Regions from separate parts of the Homo sapiens genome. Here all the other regions are linked to region 3. Evidence: promoter capture Hi-C in human tissues and cell types (Jung and others, 2019). All regions are on one chromosome and are shown on one strand. Each heading gives the region's core, a stretch centred on a gene start or on the middle of the fragment in contact. The rest is flanking DNA. Distances are from core to core; before and after follow the strand shown. Region 1 overlaps FBXO8 (F-box protein 8). Region 2 overlaps CEP44 (centrosomal protein 44). Region 3 holds the start of SAP30 (Sin3A associated protein 30). Region 4 overlaps LINC02268 (long intergenic non-protein coding RNA 2268). Region 5 overlaps LINC02268 (long intergenic non-protein coding RNA 2268).

Region 1 (2,910 bases), core at 117-2,616, 900 kb after region 3:
TCCCTGCCACCACCCTCCTTATATTTACAATTGGCCCAGCATAATGGCTGTCAAACCAATCACCTCAATGGAAGGAATATGGTGCACAAATCTGTAAGTCACTTCTTATTGCCTCAAAGATCCAATGTTCAAGCATTAAAATGTGGCTGAAACACTTGCATAGCAATTACTTGATTTATTTTTCCTGATTTCATCTGGTAACTGGTCAATAAATTTTAATCTTAATTTAAATAGATATAAAATCTTATATATATTATGTATTTGGGGGATTTACCTATAGGAGGTACTCATCAAAGTTCTGCTATACACTAATATGGTGAAAAGGTGCATCTTCTTCTCAACTTGTACCTTTCCAGTTTACTTGGGACCCCCTTAGGGGCTACAAAGAAACTCCTAAGGCAATGTTTCCTAAACTTGGATTATGAGTGTTCAGTGAACTAATAGCAAATCAAAACAAAACAAAAGCAATGGGATAACGTCAAAAGGACATTAGGAGCTAATTTGAAGGAGGCTTCTATTGGCCAAACCTGGAACATCAAAATAAAAATGACAGTAATGAATTAATTGCTCCTTAGTATTTGCAGTAGACTGGTTCCAGGATCACCCCCTCATGTCACCTCCCCCAGATACCAAAATCCATGAATGCTCAAGTCCCTTGTATAAAATGGCATAGTATACATCCTCCTGTATACTTTAAATCATCTCTAGATTACTTATAACATCCAATAAGATGTAAATGCTATGTAAATAGTTGTTATACTGTATTCTAAAATTTGTATTATTATTTATTGTTGTACTGTTACTTTCTATTTTTTTCCAAATAGTTTCAATTGTGGTTGGATGACACTGGATGCAGATCCACAAATACTGAGGACCAACTGTATAATCCATTACATAAAAAAAGAATCTGTGAGTCTACACTGATGATGATCAATAAAAACATAAAGGAGAAGGAAAGCTCTTTTTTAGAGTAGAATTCTAATTAAAGAAGATAGAAAGAATAATGTAGTTAGAAAAATTATCATTTTACCATCAGAGAAAAAATAATTTAGGCAAGAATTATCAATGGATGTTGTTGAATCTGGAGTTTGACAAAGAATGGAATACTTACAGAATCCCAAAGTATCTTCCCACATATCAGTCATTAATTACAAGAAAAAATTAAGAAATAAGACAAAACCTTAACCAAATGATGAAAATTAACATTTACAAATAAGAGGCAAATGCACATCATATGCCTCTAGATGTGATGCCCTGAGGACACAACATCATTATATAGTATTCCAGCCAAAAATCCATAATCTGAATTTAATAGGGAATATCAGAGAAACTCAAAAGGCAGTCTGTAAAATAACAGAATATTTTCCTTCAAAAACACCAATGCCAGGCTGGGAATGGTGGCTCATGCCTCTAATCTCAGTGCTTTGGGAGAGCAAGGCCAAGAGGATTGCTTGAGGACAGCCCGGGCAACATAGCGAGACCCTGTCTCTATAAAAAATTAAAAATTAGATGAGTGTGGTGGCATGTGCCTGTAGTCCTAGCTACTTAGGCGGCTGAGGCAGGAGGATCACTTGAAGCCAGGAATTGGAGGTTCCAGTGAACTAAGATTACACTACTGCACTCCAACCTGAGTGACGGAGCAAAACTCTGTTCCTAAAAAATAAATCAATAATGCCAATGTCATAAAAGTTAAAAAAAAAAAAAAGAAAAGAAAAGAAAAAAGGTGGAAGAACAGTTTTGGATTAAAAGAGGCTAAAAACAATACCACCGAAATGCAGTATGTCAACAGGATTGGAAAAAAATTGCTATGTCGCACATTATTGAGATAAATAAGAAACTAGATATATGGGCTGAAGATTGGATAAAAATATGGTATCATAGTATCAATGTTAAATTTCCTAAACTTGATAACTGTGAAATGGCTATACAGAAGTATATCCTCATTCTTAGGGAACACACACTGAAGTGTGATGGTGTGATGTATGCAACCTACTCCAAAATGGTTCAGCAAAACAGTAACGTCTATGTCTATACAGATGGAACAATAAGGTGATGTGGCAAAATATTAAAAATTTGTAAACCTGGCTAAAAAGTATTCAAGGGTTATTTTTATTCCTCTAACAATTTTTTTGTAACTACAAATCTCCTAGTTGTGGAATCCAGGCATGTAAATTTGAAAAAGATGTGTGTTTGAGTTTATGTACTCAGTTTAAGAATTATTATTATTATTATTACCTTAGGGCTCAGTGTAATACAGACTGAAGACCATTACTAAAGAAATAGTGGTCCAGAGAGGTTAAGCAAATTTGCCTGAGAAGTCAAAGCTGGAAAAATGGAAGATTTAGGATTCAAACTCAGTTCTATCTGAGTCCAAAGCTTTTATTCTTAACCCACAAACCATATTCCCAGAACCGCTGGAGCCCATGGATGACAAAAGCAATTTACCATCTGTTTCTTCACCACTGGTTCTCATCTCTTTTTACCCCGTCACTGTTTATTACCTCCATCGTTGGTCCCAGCTGCAGCTGCTCTTTCAGGCTACTGCTGTTCTTGTGGAAAGCACACAGGCTTTGATGTGAAGAAAGATCAGCATCAAACCCCAACACGGAATCTGATTAGCCTGTGATTTCTGATCCTCATTCTTCTCATTAGTAAAATAACGGATAATAATTCTTATTCCATGGGACTTAGTAGGGATAACATTTATGGAACTTAACCCATAGTAGGTAGTTTACAATAAAAGGTAGTTTCGTACTCATCCCTCTCGCCCTCTTTAAATGATAACTATTATTTTGGTTCCTTCATTTCAAATACACCTGATAACTGTGGATTAATTACCTGAGTAGTCATAATCCTGGTCCTGAATTTCATTAATTTGGGATCTGTGAAATTTGGAGAGATGCCATTTAC
Region 2 (3,044 bases), core at 495-2,994, 920 kb after region 3:
GATATTGTGAAACCATCCAACCATTATTACTACAAGAAATCAATGCCATCACCTTGAAAAGTTTCCTTCTACTCATCTTTTTTTCACGTTTTGTGATAAGAGCACTTAACATTAGATCTAACTTCTTAGCAAAATTTTAAGAATACAATATTGCTAATCACAGACACTGGGTTGTACCTGCAGATCTTATTTATTTTGCCTAACTGAAACTTTGTACCCTTTGAACAACAGCTTCCCATTTTGTTCTCCCCATGTTCCCTTACAACCACCATTCTATTCTCTGCTTGCATGTATTTGACTATTTTAGATTTCACATACATTGAGATAATACAGTATTTGTCTTTTTGTGTTTAGCTTATTTCACTTAGCATAATGTCCTTCAGGTTCATCCATGTTGTTGCAAATGGCAGGATTTCCTTCTTTTTTAAAGGCAAATTTGTTTATTCTCACATTTTTGTTGGGGTCCCTAAGGTTTTCTACATCTAAGATCATGTCATCTGCAAACAGATATTGTACCTCTTCTCTTTTTATTTGGATGTTTTTAATTTATTTTTCTTACCTAGTTATTCTGGCTAGGACTTAAAATACTACGCTGAATAGGAGAGGCTAAAGTAGGCAACCTTGCCTTGTTCCTCATCTTATGGGGAAAGCTTTCAGTTTTTTATCTTTAAGTATCTTAGCTGTGGGCTTCTCATAAATGGACTTTATTTTGTTTTTCCTTTACCTAATTTGCTATAAGGTTCTTCCATACCTAGTTTATTGGGAGTTTTTATCACAAAAGAGTATCGAATTTTGTCAAGTGCTTTTTCTGCATCTGTGCAGATGCCCATGTGAGTTTTATCCTTCATTCTATTAATGCAGTATATTACATTGGTTGGTTGTCATATGTTGAACCATCCTTGCATCACAATGAAAAATCCTACTTGGTCATGGTATATGATTCTTTTAATGTGCTGTTGTGTTTGGTTTGCTAACATTTCATTGAGGATTTTTACGTCTATATTCATCAAATGTATTAGACTGTAGTTTTCTTGTAGTGTATTTGTCTGGCTTTGGTATCAGGGTGATGCAGGCCTCAGAATGACTTTGGAAGTGTTCCCTCTTCTTTTTTTTTTTTTTTTAGATATGTTTAATAAGGTTTTGTATTAATTTTTCTTTAAATGTTTGCTAGAATGTATCTGGCTCTTGGCTTTTCTTTGTTGGGAATTTTTTGATTATTCCATCAATCTCCTTTTTTGTTATTTGTCTATTCAAGCATTCTATTTCTTCTTGATTCAGTCTTGGTAAGTTATATTTTTCTAGGAATTTACCCATTTTTTTTTAGATTGTCCAATTTGATGGCATATAATTGTTCATAATAGTCCCTTATGATACTTTTTATATCTGTGGGATCAATTGTGTCCTCTTTCATTTCTGATTTTGTTTGAGTCTTCTATTTTTAAAGTCTAGCCAAGGATTTGTTGATTTAGTTTGTCTTTTCAAAAGAGGAACTTTTAGTTTTGTCAATTTTTAAAATTGTTTTTCAATTTTCTATTTCATTTATTTCTAATCTAATCTTTATTATTTTCTTCCTTCTGCTAATTTTGGATTTAGTTTGTTCTTTTTCTAGTTCCTTGAGGTGTAAAGTTAGGTTGTTTTATTGAGACCTTTTTTTTTTTTTCTTTGAGACAGAGTCTTGCTCTGTCACCAGGCTGGAGTGCAGTGGCGTGATGATCTTGGCTTACTGCAACCTCCGCCTCCCGGGTTCAAGTGATTCTCCTGCCTCAGCCTCCCGAGTAGGTGGGAGTCCCAAGTAGGTGGGACTAGAGCCACGCACCACCATGCTCAGCTAATTTTTGTATTTTTTGTAGAGATGGGGTTTCACCATGTTAGCCAGGATGGTCTCAATCTCTTGACCTAGTGACCCGCCTGCCTCAGCCCCCAAAAGTGCTAGGATTATAGGCGTGAGCCACTGTGTCCTGCCTCTTTCTTCTTCTTAATGAATTTATTGCTATAAACACTTCTCTTATTCTGCTTTTACTGCATCCTATATGTTTGGGTATACTGTGTTTTTATTATTGTTTGTCTTGAGATATTTTATAATTTCTGTTTTGATTTATTCTTTGACCCAGTATTATTTAATAGTATGTTATTTAATTCCCCTGTATTTGTGAATTTTTCCATTTTCTTTCTATTATTGATTTCTAGTTTCATTCCCTCGTGATCAGACAAAATGTTTAGAATGTTTTTAGTCTTCTTAAATTTGTTAAGACTTGTTTTGTGACCTAGGCTGTGATCAGTTATAGAGAATGTTTCATGTCCTTTTGAGAAGAATGATTATTTTGCTATGGTTGGGTCTCATGTTCTGTATATGCATGTTAGGTCTTTGGTCTATAGTGTTGTATAGTTTGCAATTTACTTGTTGGTATTCTGTCCGGATGACCAGTACATTATAGACAGTGACGTATCAAAGTCTCCTTCTGTATTGTATTGATATCTATTTCTTCCTCCAATTCTATCAATATTTGCTGTTGGCATTCTGTCTGGATGACCTGTACATTATAGAGAGTGATGTATCAAAGTCTCCTTCTATATTGTATCGATATCTATTTCTTCCTTCAAATCTGTCAATGTTCACTGTATATTTTAAGGTGCTTTGATGTTGGGTGCATATGTATTTTTAGTTGTTGTATCTTTCTATTGAATTGACCCTTTTACTATTATATAATGCCTTCTTTGTCTCTTTTGACAGTTGTCGACTTAAAGTCTATTTTGTCTGATATAGATAGCCACCCTGCTCTCTTTTGGTTATAGTTTGCATGGAATATCTTTCTCAATCCCTTCACTTTTAGCCTACGTGTGTCCTTAAATGTTAGAGTCTCTTGTAGATAGCGTATAGTTGAGTGTTGTTTTTATTATCCATTTCAGCCATTCCATGTCTACTGAGAGCCCTTAATTATTAAAAATTTAAAGTAATAATTTTTAATAATTAAGTACTTAATTGTTTCCATTTTATTCATTGTTTTCTATTTGCTTTCTGTTTCTCCTGTTTTTCTCTTGTTTGT
Region 3 (2,714 bases), core at 115-2,614:
CATCCTGGGCGACAGAGCAAACTGTCTCAAAAGAAAAAAAAATCATTTATCACTAAATTTACTCACCAAAAGAACTTGCAAAAAAAAAACCCAAAACCCTACTGCCTAAAATATATTTTAAAACGTATTTGTGTTTAAGCAGCATATATCTTTTGATAAATAATGACGCATGGTAGCTAACTAGTAAAGATGCAGCTTTCATATTAGCCACGCCCATCCCTCTCTCCGCCCTCCACAAGCACGTCCCCGCAAGCGCGCAGGAACATACACGCGTACGCGCGCACACACACGTACACACGCGCGCGCCCGCGAACACATACATACAAGCAGGCGCGCCCAAACGCCGGCAGCACACAGGCGCGCACGCGCTTTTCAGGACTCAGGAAATGCGCTTTCTGCTCCCCGCGCCCGGTAGAGCTAATGCAGGGAAGTTTCTGGGAACATTCGACCAGCGTTTGTATTGGTGAGGTTCCAAGTTTCCTTTAAAATGATATGACTCCGCCCTTCTCCAAAACCGTTTGAGGAGAAATGGAAAAGGTTGGGCGTGGAGGTGAAAAGGAGCCCTGTTGTCAACTGGTCCGTACTCCACCTCAGGAGGCGGCCAACTTGGTGCGCCCAAGAATAAAAACATTTCCCTTGTAAGAACATGCAAGTGTTTAGAAACGCCCCCCCACCCCCCCGCAAGGCGTTTGTGAGGGGGACCTGTCACAGTTGAGAAGTCAGGATGGGCGTTTTCCTCCCAGGAGGTGCCCTATTAATTTGCGGCCTCGATAGTTGGTCAAGCCGGGATGTTAGCTGCGGAACCTCCAGGACCGAAGAGCGCCAATTCTCCTGAGTTCTCCTTGGTTTGGGTTTCCCACAAAAGAGTGGTCACACCAAAAACTCTGTCTCCACAAATGCGAAACGGGCTCGAAACTTTTTTTTCCCCACACGATCACTTCCCACACCACTCCCATCCCTTTATGTTTCGCCTCAGGAGTCGAGGAACTTCTCTGAAAACCAATTCTACGATATTCCAGCAGCTAAACACAGCCCGAATTCCCTAGAAACAGAGAGAGCGAGAGAAAACACTGTAAACCCCAATCACACGCTCCTGTTTTCCCGGTACTGAAAAAAAAAAAAAAAAAAAAAAGTGGGTCCGTGGCCGCGCTATGCATGCTAGGATTAGTAGTTCCTCCGTCCCTCATGGCGCGGGGTCAGGGCGGAGCTCAGGTTGACTCTGCAGCAGAGAACTACAATTCCCATGGGGCCGCGCGGCAGAAAGAAAGGGGCGGGACGGGAGGGGGCGCGTCGCGCTTGCGCAGGTCCCGGGGCCGGAGGGAGGCGGAGGCGTAGCGGTCCAACTGCTGAAGTCCCCATGTGACAGTGAGCGGGGTCCCCGCTCCAGGAGACGCTCGAGTCTGCGTCCCGGCCCTCAGCACTGTCCACTGTTTCGGTGCCAGCAGAGACCAGCAGGCCCGGGACAGTTGGTGTTTGGCCGTGCCGCTGTCTAACTTGGTGTGCAGAGTGAATTGCCGCTGCCGGAGCGGAGAGAGGCGGAGCGGCCAGGAGAGAGGGGATTTCTGTCAGCGCCGGCCTCGGGAGCTCGGAGACATGAACGGCTTCACGCCTGACGAGATGAGCCGCGGCGGGGATGCGGCCGCCGCAGTGGCCGCAGTGGTCGCTGCCGCGGCCGCCGCCGCCTCGGCGGGGAACGGGACCGGCGCGGGCACCGGGGCTGAGGTGCCGGGCGCGGGGGCGGTCTCAGCGGCTGGGCCCCCGGGGGCGGCCGGGCCGGGCCCCGGGCAACTGTGCTGCCTGCGGGAGGATGGTGAGCGGTGCGGCCGGGCGGCAGGCAACGCCAGCTTCAGCAAGAGGATCCAGAAGAGCATCTCCCAGAAGAAGGTGAAGATCGAGCTGGATAAGAGCGTAAGTAAACCGCGGGACCGCCCTGCCCTCCCGCCCCTCGGTGGGGCCCCAGGAGCCGGGCAAAGGCACGGGTTGTCGGCGGGGTCCCCCAGACAACCGCACTGGCTGCAGTGCGGTCTCGTGGAGTCTGTGTTTGGAAGCAAATAACAAAGTCGCTGCAACTCCTACCGCCACCCCAACACACACACCACACACAGGCTGTCGTTCCCCTCTTCTTTCCCACCCTGGCCCCCAACCTCCCGCTGCCTGCGTCTCTCCCGCGCAGTCTTCCCTCTTCCTTCTCCTCTGCGACCGGGACACGAAACAAAGGGGACCGGCGCACTGAGGGCCCAGAGTAGTTTTCTTGCAGCCCGGCAGCTCTTCTGGAATGGAGGCGCCTTTGTTTTGCTGCCCAAGCTGGTGTTTGGCCCCAGGCGGTACTAAATCCCGTCGTCTAGGAGAAAGCGGAGGACCTTCACGAACAAGGAAGATCCTGTTCTTTTCTGTGTTCCGTCTCCTCCGGAGCGGAGTGAGAGGGAAGCCGAGCTCACCCGCCGCCTGGCAGTGAGCCGGGGTTGTAAACGGCGTTTGCGCTGTCAGCTCCGAGGGCAGCTACTCCGATGGTGGGGAGCACGTAGCCTCTGCGGTTTTGCCATCCCCTTGGCAGCCATCAGGATTTTTTGCACGTCTTTTCGTTTGACCATCTATGAGGTTTTTAGAAACAGCCGTTGCTACTTTTGGGAGATCTGGCTAGCGGTAAATGAATAACATGGTATCGAGAACCTACCACAAGTCCTGCATATTTTTATCTTGCGCTTGGCTTAGAA
Region 4 (2,700 bases), core at 185-2,684, 730 kb after region 3:
GGTGATACCCCCGCTTCAGCCCCTCAAAGTGCTGGGATTACAGGAGTGAGCCACCACTCCCAACCATCTTGTCATTAAATTATAACCAGTTCAATAACAGGGATGTTCTGTACATGAAAACTTTCCATAGTACTTTATTATATTTACCATTATGGAAGGAGATCATTAAATTTTTGCTATGATCATCAAAAAATGCTATAAAAATGACATCTAATGAAATTCGAAAGTTTCCACATTTGCACCCATGTGTGTAAATATGACTGACTGCACATAAATATCTGAATCCATGTTTCCAGATAAGCTCAAAAAAATAGGTATAGTTCATTATTTATTTTCTTTATTTCTTCTTCTTATCTAGGACAAAAGTGCATATTGACTACCTCATTATATCATCATGTGATAGAAAGAGAAGTAGGGATCCCAGGCTCTAGCTCTGGCTCCCAATACCTGTGGCCTTGACAAACCAGGTCATGTCTCTGGAATTCACCAGTAAAGTAAAAAGTGCGTGCCAGATGATCTCCAAGGTACTTTCTGTTTCTGGTATTCTGAGAGTCTTTATGGGGCCATCAACTCAAGCTAGCTGGCTCCCATTTGGGTCAAAGTGTCTTATCTTTCAAGAAGTGAATATTTTGGTGTCAGAAAGTCAACTGAAATGAAAAGAGAGGGAGTAAGGGAGGCAAGGCGGGAGAGAAAGAAACTAAAGTGAACCAAAATTCTTCTTTACCCTAGGAATTTGTAGAAATTTGTACAATTAACTCTACCCAGGGAAAATTAGTTATTTCTTTTCTCCCCACAAGACATTATTTGGGCCACCCTATGCAGCATAATGAGGCCCTGCCTCTACAAAAAAATTAAAATAAATAAAAAATTAGCCGGGCATAGTGGCACGTGCCTGTAGTCCCAGCAACTGGGGAGACTGCGGTGGGAGGATCACTTGAGCCTAGGAGGTCGAGTCTGCAGTGAGCCATAATCACGTCACTGCACTCCATTCTGGGGGACAGAGGCTGACTCTGTTTTTTAAAAAAGAGATATTTGGGGCTCAGAAAGTCAGTAAACATTGCCACAGATTATAACCTAATCTACCCTGCACCTATTGATTGTGGGACAAGATGTAACATTTCAATGGCTAAGATAATCAAATAAATATTAAAAATATTAAAATTTCCTAATCACCTCTAATTCATTTATAAGGACTAACCACAGATAAGATGATTTAGGTTTCAAAAGAAGCCACATGAAGTAGTGAAAAGAGCACAGAAATGTAAGCTTGAAAATCTATATTCTATTCTGTTCTCTGTTCTGACCCATTTGTAGGATACTGGCAAGTGACTTAAGATCTTTAAATCCCAGTTCATTAATTGAAGAATAAAATGTTTGGATTTGTTGGTATTTAAGATGTCTGGCAACAATGGAATTTCTTGACTCTATGAAAGATGAGACTTATTGAGAAATAGAGGTAACTTTATAACACTGAAAGCCTATCCTAGTTAGATGCAGTAGGAAGGCTCATGAGCAACGTTTTCTTAGAAACCAGAATTCTTGCTTATTTTGGATTTACCACCACTGTTATAAGGAGCAAAAGAAAAACTTTTCCATCCTGGTTAGAAGATAAAAGGATGAGTTAAGATCATATGTCACAGATCTCAAGCCAGCAAAGTTTATAGGTAGAATAATTTAAAAATAAGCAAGTATGTAATCTACATCAATGAAAACATGGGAAACTTGTTTTTTTTTATCATTAATTAGAGCAACAAAACTGGGCAGTGGGGGTGGGGGCAAAGGCTTCTTAAGAGAAATTAATCTCAGTTTCATGCCTCAACTTGAAATGTACCAAACTTTCAGGTAATAGATTTATTTCATAGAAAGCAAAAAGAGAATATGTATTGAAAAAATTATTCCAAATAAAATGAAAATAATTTCCAGCAAAGATTAATATTGCTCTTAGAACTTAAGGTACAGGAATTTTTTTAAAAAAAGAGATTTCATATTCAGAAATATTCTCATAGCAGGAACTTTTTCTAGCGTAATATTAGAAAATTTCCTGAATATTATAGTAGTGAGAAACTTCATTTTAATTTAAATCTATTTTGCTGTTAGATTTCACACACCAAACATCCTATTAGTCTAGGTGGTTCAATTGCATAATAACAGTATTTTTTATCGCTTTAGATGATCTCTTTAGATCTGCTGGATAATTTTATCAATGAGAGAAAATGAAGACTGTTATTTGATTACTCGAGTCTTGAGACAATCATAAGTATTTAGATTCATAAAGCCAAATAAACAAAAGGGGGGTTTGTTGCTGGCCATATGATGAGCACCTAGCTTCTCTGTCGTTAAAAGTTTCCTCACACCTTACGATGTAACAAAACATTTCACAAATAGCCAGAAAGAAAATCAGATTCTTGTGAGGCTTCTCAAGATAGTTATTGTGAATGTTTGTGCATAAACATTCTGAGACAGACAGGGGTGCGCACCCTCCTGCACCCCACCGCCACACACAACCTATCTCAGAAATTTGCGAAAACATAGTCTAACAGTTTCTGTGGAAAATGCCTCATTAATCTTGGGTGAATCACCATAGGAACCTGTGGAAGGTGAAATCTTGAACAGGATGGAGCCTTCTCATCAGTCATTGATTAGTGTTAGAAATAACTCCTACTGTTTCATGTTACCTACAATCTTCAAAGTAATAATGGT
Region 5 (2,813 bases), core at 212-2,711, 780 kb after region 3:
ACTTCATATGATGTAATATTTTCTGGTGTGCTATAAAGGGCATCAGAACTTTGGGATAGATTTTCACCTCAATAAGTTGGAGAAGCACTAGCATGAGGATTAATTTAATTAATTTTATTAAAGGCACTATTTTTTTAAATGTTACCTTCCTGTCCAATTGATAACAATGATAGAAGAGGATACCTTAACCAAGGAATAATTAGGAACATGGGACAAAGACCCAGTGTTCTTTGACTGGTTAATAATTTGTACTTTCCTTGGTCAAAATCAAGAGGGGCTTGATAGAAAGTTCTCTGAGTATTTCAACAGGAAAAAAGCTGAAGTTTGACTTAGCTTAAATTAGTTATCACCCTCAATATCATAAACTTCTACCATTTGGATCATTCCTTTGGTTTACGGTACCACAGTCCTCATGAAAATGATCACGTTTATCAAAATACTTTTTTGCTTGAGGAGCAATCCATAGTAGGCATTTAATATAGAAAAACTTTGGTAGTGTAAAGGATTAAGGAAAGGTCAGACAGATTGCTGCTTGACAAAACTTGTGCCCAGAATGTCATATAAATGTGCACATAGTAACTGCACAATAAATGTTGACCCACGGAAGTGGCAAGCTTAGAAACAAGGCAAGTGCTGAAGGTGAAAATGAAATGCTAAAATGGGCATAGCCATGCCCAAACCACACTCCTCAAAACCAGCCCTCAAGCTCCAGTTTCCTCTTTTGATTTTCTTATCCATAATCAGTATTTTTCAGCCTGATGAACAATTCAGAAGAGACAGTTTGAAGAGTTCAAGATTTTAATAAGTCAGAATCTCCAAAATCTTGTTTTCTTTTCTGCTCTTAATGCAGGAAAATTTGCTTCTGCTCTGTGAGTAGGAAAAATGAGCACATGGAGAGAGAGAGTGTGGCCTGAATGGTAATCCCTAGCCTAAAGCTTCACAAAGAAAAACTGAAAAGGCTTTTATGAAGAGAATTCAGCCTTTACGTGCATGACTTGAAGCAATCTCTTGAACTAGGTTCTGAAGTTCAGAAAACAAATTCTATATAATCAAAACAGAGGGCAGAGTTATGTGTGGATGTCTTGGCTCTCCTAAAATTTTGAGCATTTCCTGTAGGAAGTCTCTAAGAATAATGTGGCTCAGCCCCAGATAGAGGAGCAACAAGAGGACACCAGGGTGCTGCCAATCCTACTTGTCCATCCTTCTGGTTTTACAGCAAACCTAGCAGGAAGCAGCAATTGGAGCCTGGGAATAATGGGTGAGGGCGTTGATCTTTGGCCACTGAAGACAGCCTGCTTAAAATTGGAGAAAACAAAAACAAAAACAAAAACAGAAGAAAAAAAAACCCCACTGCACTTCTTCCAACATGTAGTTTCAAAATGTAAAAGAATAAAAATTAAGCTTCTTTCCCTTGGAATCTTGAGTTTATCTTTTCATCAGGAAGATATAAATTGTAACCTCCTCTCTTTGCTTAACAAACAGCTAACTATAATACAGAGGGTTTCCCTCCTTAGAGGTAATATGATATTTCCCCCCCTTTCTCACTGTCATTTATACATAGTGGAAGTGTCTTAAAGAATAAGCATGATCATGTAAGATATACATTGTGGTTTGTAAAATATTCAAGTTTTTTTACTTAGTCACCTCTATGCCAGCTTTTAAATATGACTGAAATATGTTCATAAGATTATTTAAACTTTTGTCCTAAAGTTTTGTTCTCCTTATTAATTTATCACATGTGTCCTATGTAATATGATCATCTGTATATGGTATGTAAAAAATATATATATGTTTAGCTCCTACAAAGGTTTTTCTCAGATAAATCCAACTACGAATAAGTAGACACACCCCATCCACATTCAGAAAGTGATTTAAAGCCCAGGAGACCCCATGATGTGGCCATACTTTGAAACAGGGGAGCTACATTCAATTTTTAAGAAACCTAATGAAAAAATTATAAAGTCATGAAAAAAGTTATAAGCACAAATATCAGGGTTTGAGAATGGCAGTTGTATAAGGTCACTCTGGAAAAATTAATATTTTGTCTAAAATAAAGTCCTATATTATTTAAATAGTTATAAATATGTTTATAAGCCAAATTAATTTCAAAATGCTACATTTATAGATATATGATAAGCAAATGAGTAATGAAAATATATTAATATATTAATTATATTAATTAAATATATTATTTAAAATATATATTTCATACATAAATTAAATATAGTACAATATTTATATGTACTACAATTATATATCTACATATAATAATTATGTTATGCATATTACATTGCATATATTTTATATGTAAATGACATATATTTATTCTTTTTAACCATATAGCTTAAACTTTTCTATTTCAACAAAGAAAGCAAAATACGTATTTTATTTCTAGGATTCCATTCAGAAGACATGTGATACACCTCGAAACTGAATTTTTATTTGTTTATTAAAAGCCTGACACATGGATTTTGATATTTTTTATGTCCCTACCCTGTGCTAATGTGATAAATATAATTTCCTTTTTCAAACTACTCATATCTTAAATGCTCTTTTACTACATGTTTGGCCTCAAATTCCTTTTTGAATAAGGTGGAGTACTATAAACAAACAATATTTAATGGCTGTTTTGCTGAATAAAAATATAACAGTTAACAGCTTTCTTCATTAACATGCTCGCCCAGGAGCTGGTTTAACTTTCCATAGCAAGACGTGGTCATCAAAATTCCTATTCCATATTTCCAAATGCTTTTTCTGTCATATTATTTACTGGAATTTAGATTATTATAAGCATACGTTCTATGAGGAAATTT

What was found. Contacts are between HindIII fragments. The study calls those that stand out against the background at their distance.
Region 1: a fragment that was not itself captured here is called in contact with the fragment with the promoter of SAP30 in region 3 in 1 of the 25 tissues and cell types used here (mesenchymal stem cells).
Region 2: a contact is called between a fragment that was not itself captured here and the fragment with the promoter of SAP30 in region 3, in 1 of the 25 tissues and cell types used here (mesenchymal stem cells).
Region 4: a fragment that was not itself captured here is called in contact with the fragment with the promoter of SAP30 in region 3 in 1 of the 25 tissues and cell types used here (heart left ventricle).
Region 5: a contact is called between a fragment that was not itself captured here and the fragment with the promoter of SAP30 in region 3, in 1 of the 25 tissues and cell types used here (mesenchymal stem cells).

Annotation. Positions count from the first base shown.
Region 1 is chr4:174,271,633-174,274,542 of GRCh38, forward strand. The region is part of intron 1 of FBXO8 (F-box protein 8); the gene reads right to left. Among named protein-coding and RNA genes, the nearest start is that of FBXO8, 11 kb to the right of the region's middle. The HindIII fragment of the contact is 5,625 bases long and covers 1-2,910 here.
Region 2 is chr4:174,288,191-174,291,234 of GRCh38, forward strand. The region is part of intron 1 of CEP44 (centrosomal protein 44); the gene reads left to right. Among named protein-coding and RNA genes, the nearest start is that of CEP44, 5.8 kb to the left of the region's middle. The HindIII fragment of the contact is 6,159 bases long and covers 1-3,044 here.
Region 3 is chr4:173,369,590-173,372,303 of GRCh38, forward strand. It overlaps SAP30 (Sin3A associated protein 30), which reads left to right and starts at 1,365. Exons shown (of 4, transcript NM_003864.4): 1 at 1,365-1,908. The coding sequence starts at 1,594. SAP30-DT (SAP30 divergent transcript) reads right to left here and starts at 1,109. Exons shown (of 4, transcript NR_183973.1): 1 at 703-1,109; 2 at 1-21. RefSeq lists enhancers at 586-825, 1,909-2,472, 2,176-2,475 and silencers at 1,226-1,395, 1,676-2,055. The HindIII fragment of the contact is 15,433 bases long and covers 1-2,714 here.
Region 4 is chr4:174,100,927-174,103,626 of GRCh38, forward strand. All of the region lies in intron 2 of LINC02268 (long intergenic non-protein coding RNA 2268), which reads right to left. Among named protein-coding and RNA genes, the nearest start is that of LINC02268, 120 kb to the right of the region's middle. The HindIII fragment of the contact is 5,555 bases long and covers 1-2,700 here.
Region 5 is chr4:174,151,741-174,154,553 of GRCh38, forward strand. The region is part of intron 1 of LINC02268 (long intergenic non-protein coding RNA 2268); the gene reads right to left. Among named protein-coding and RNA genes, the nearest start is that of LINC02268, 67 kb to the right of the region's middle. The HindIII fragment of the contact is 4,826 bases long and covers 1-2,813 here.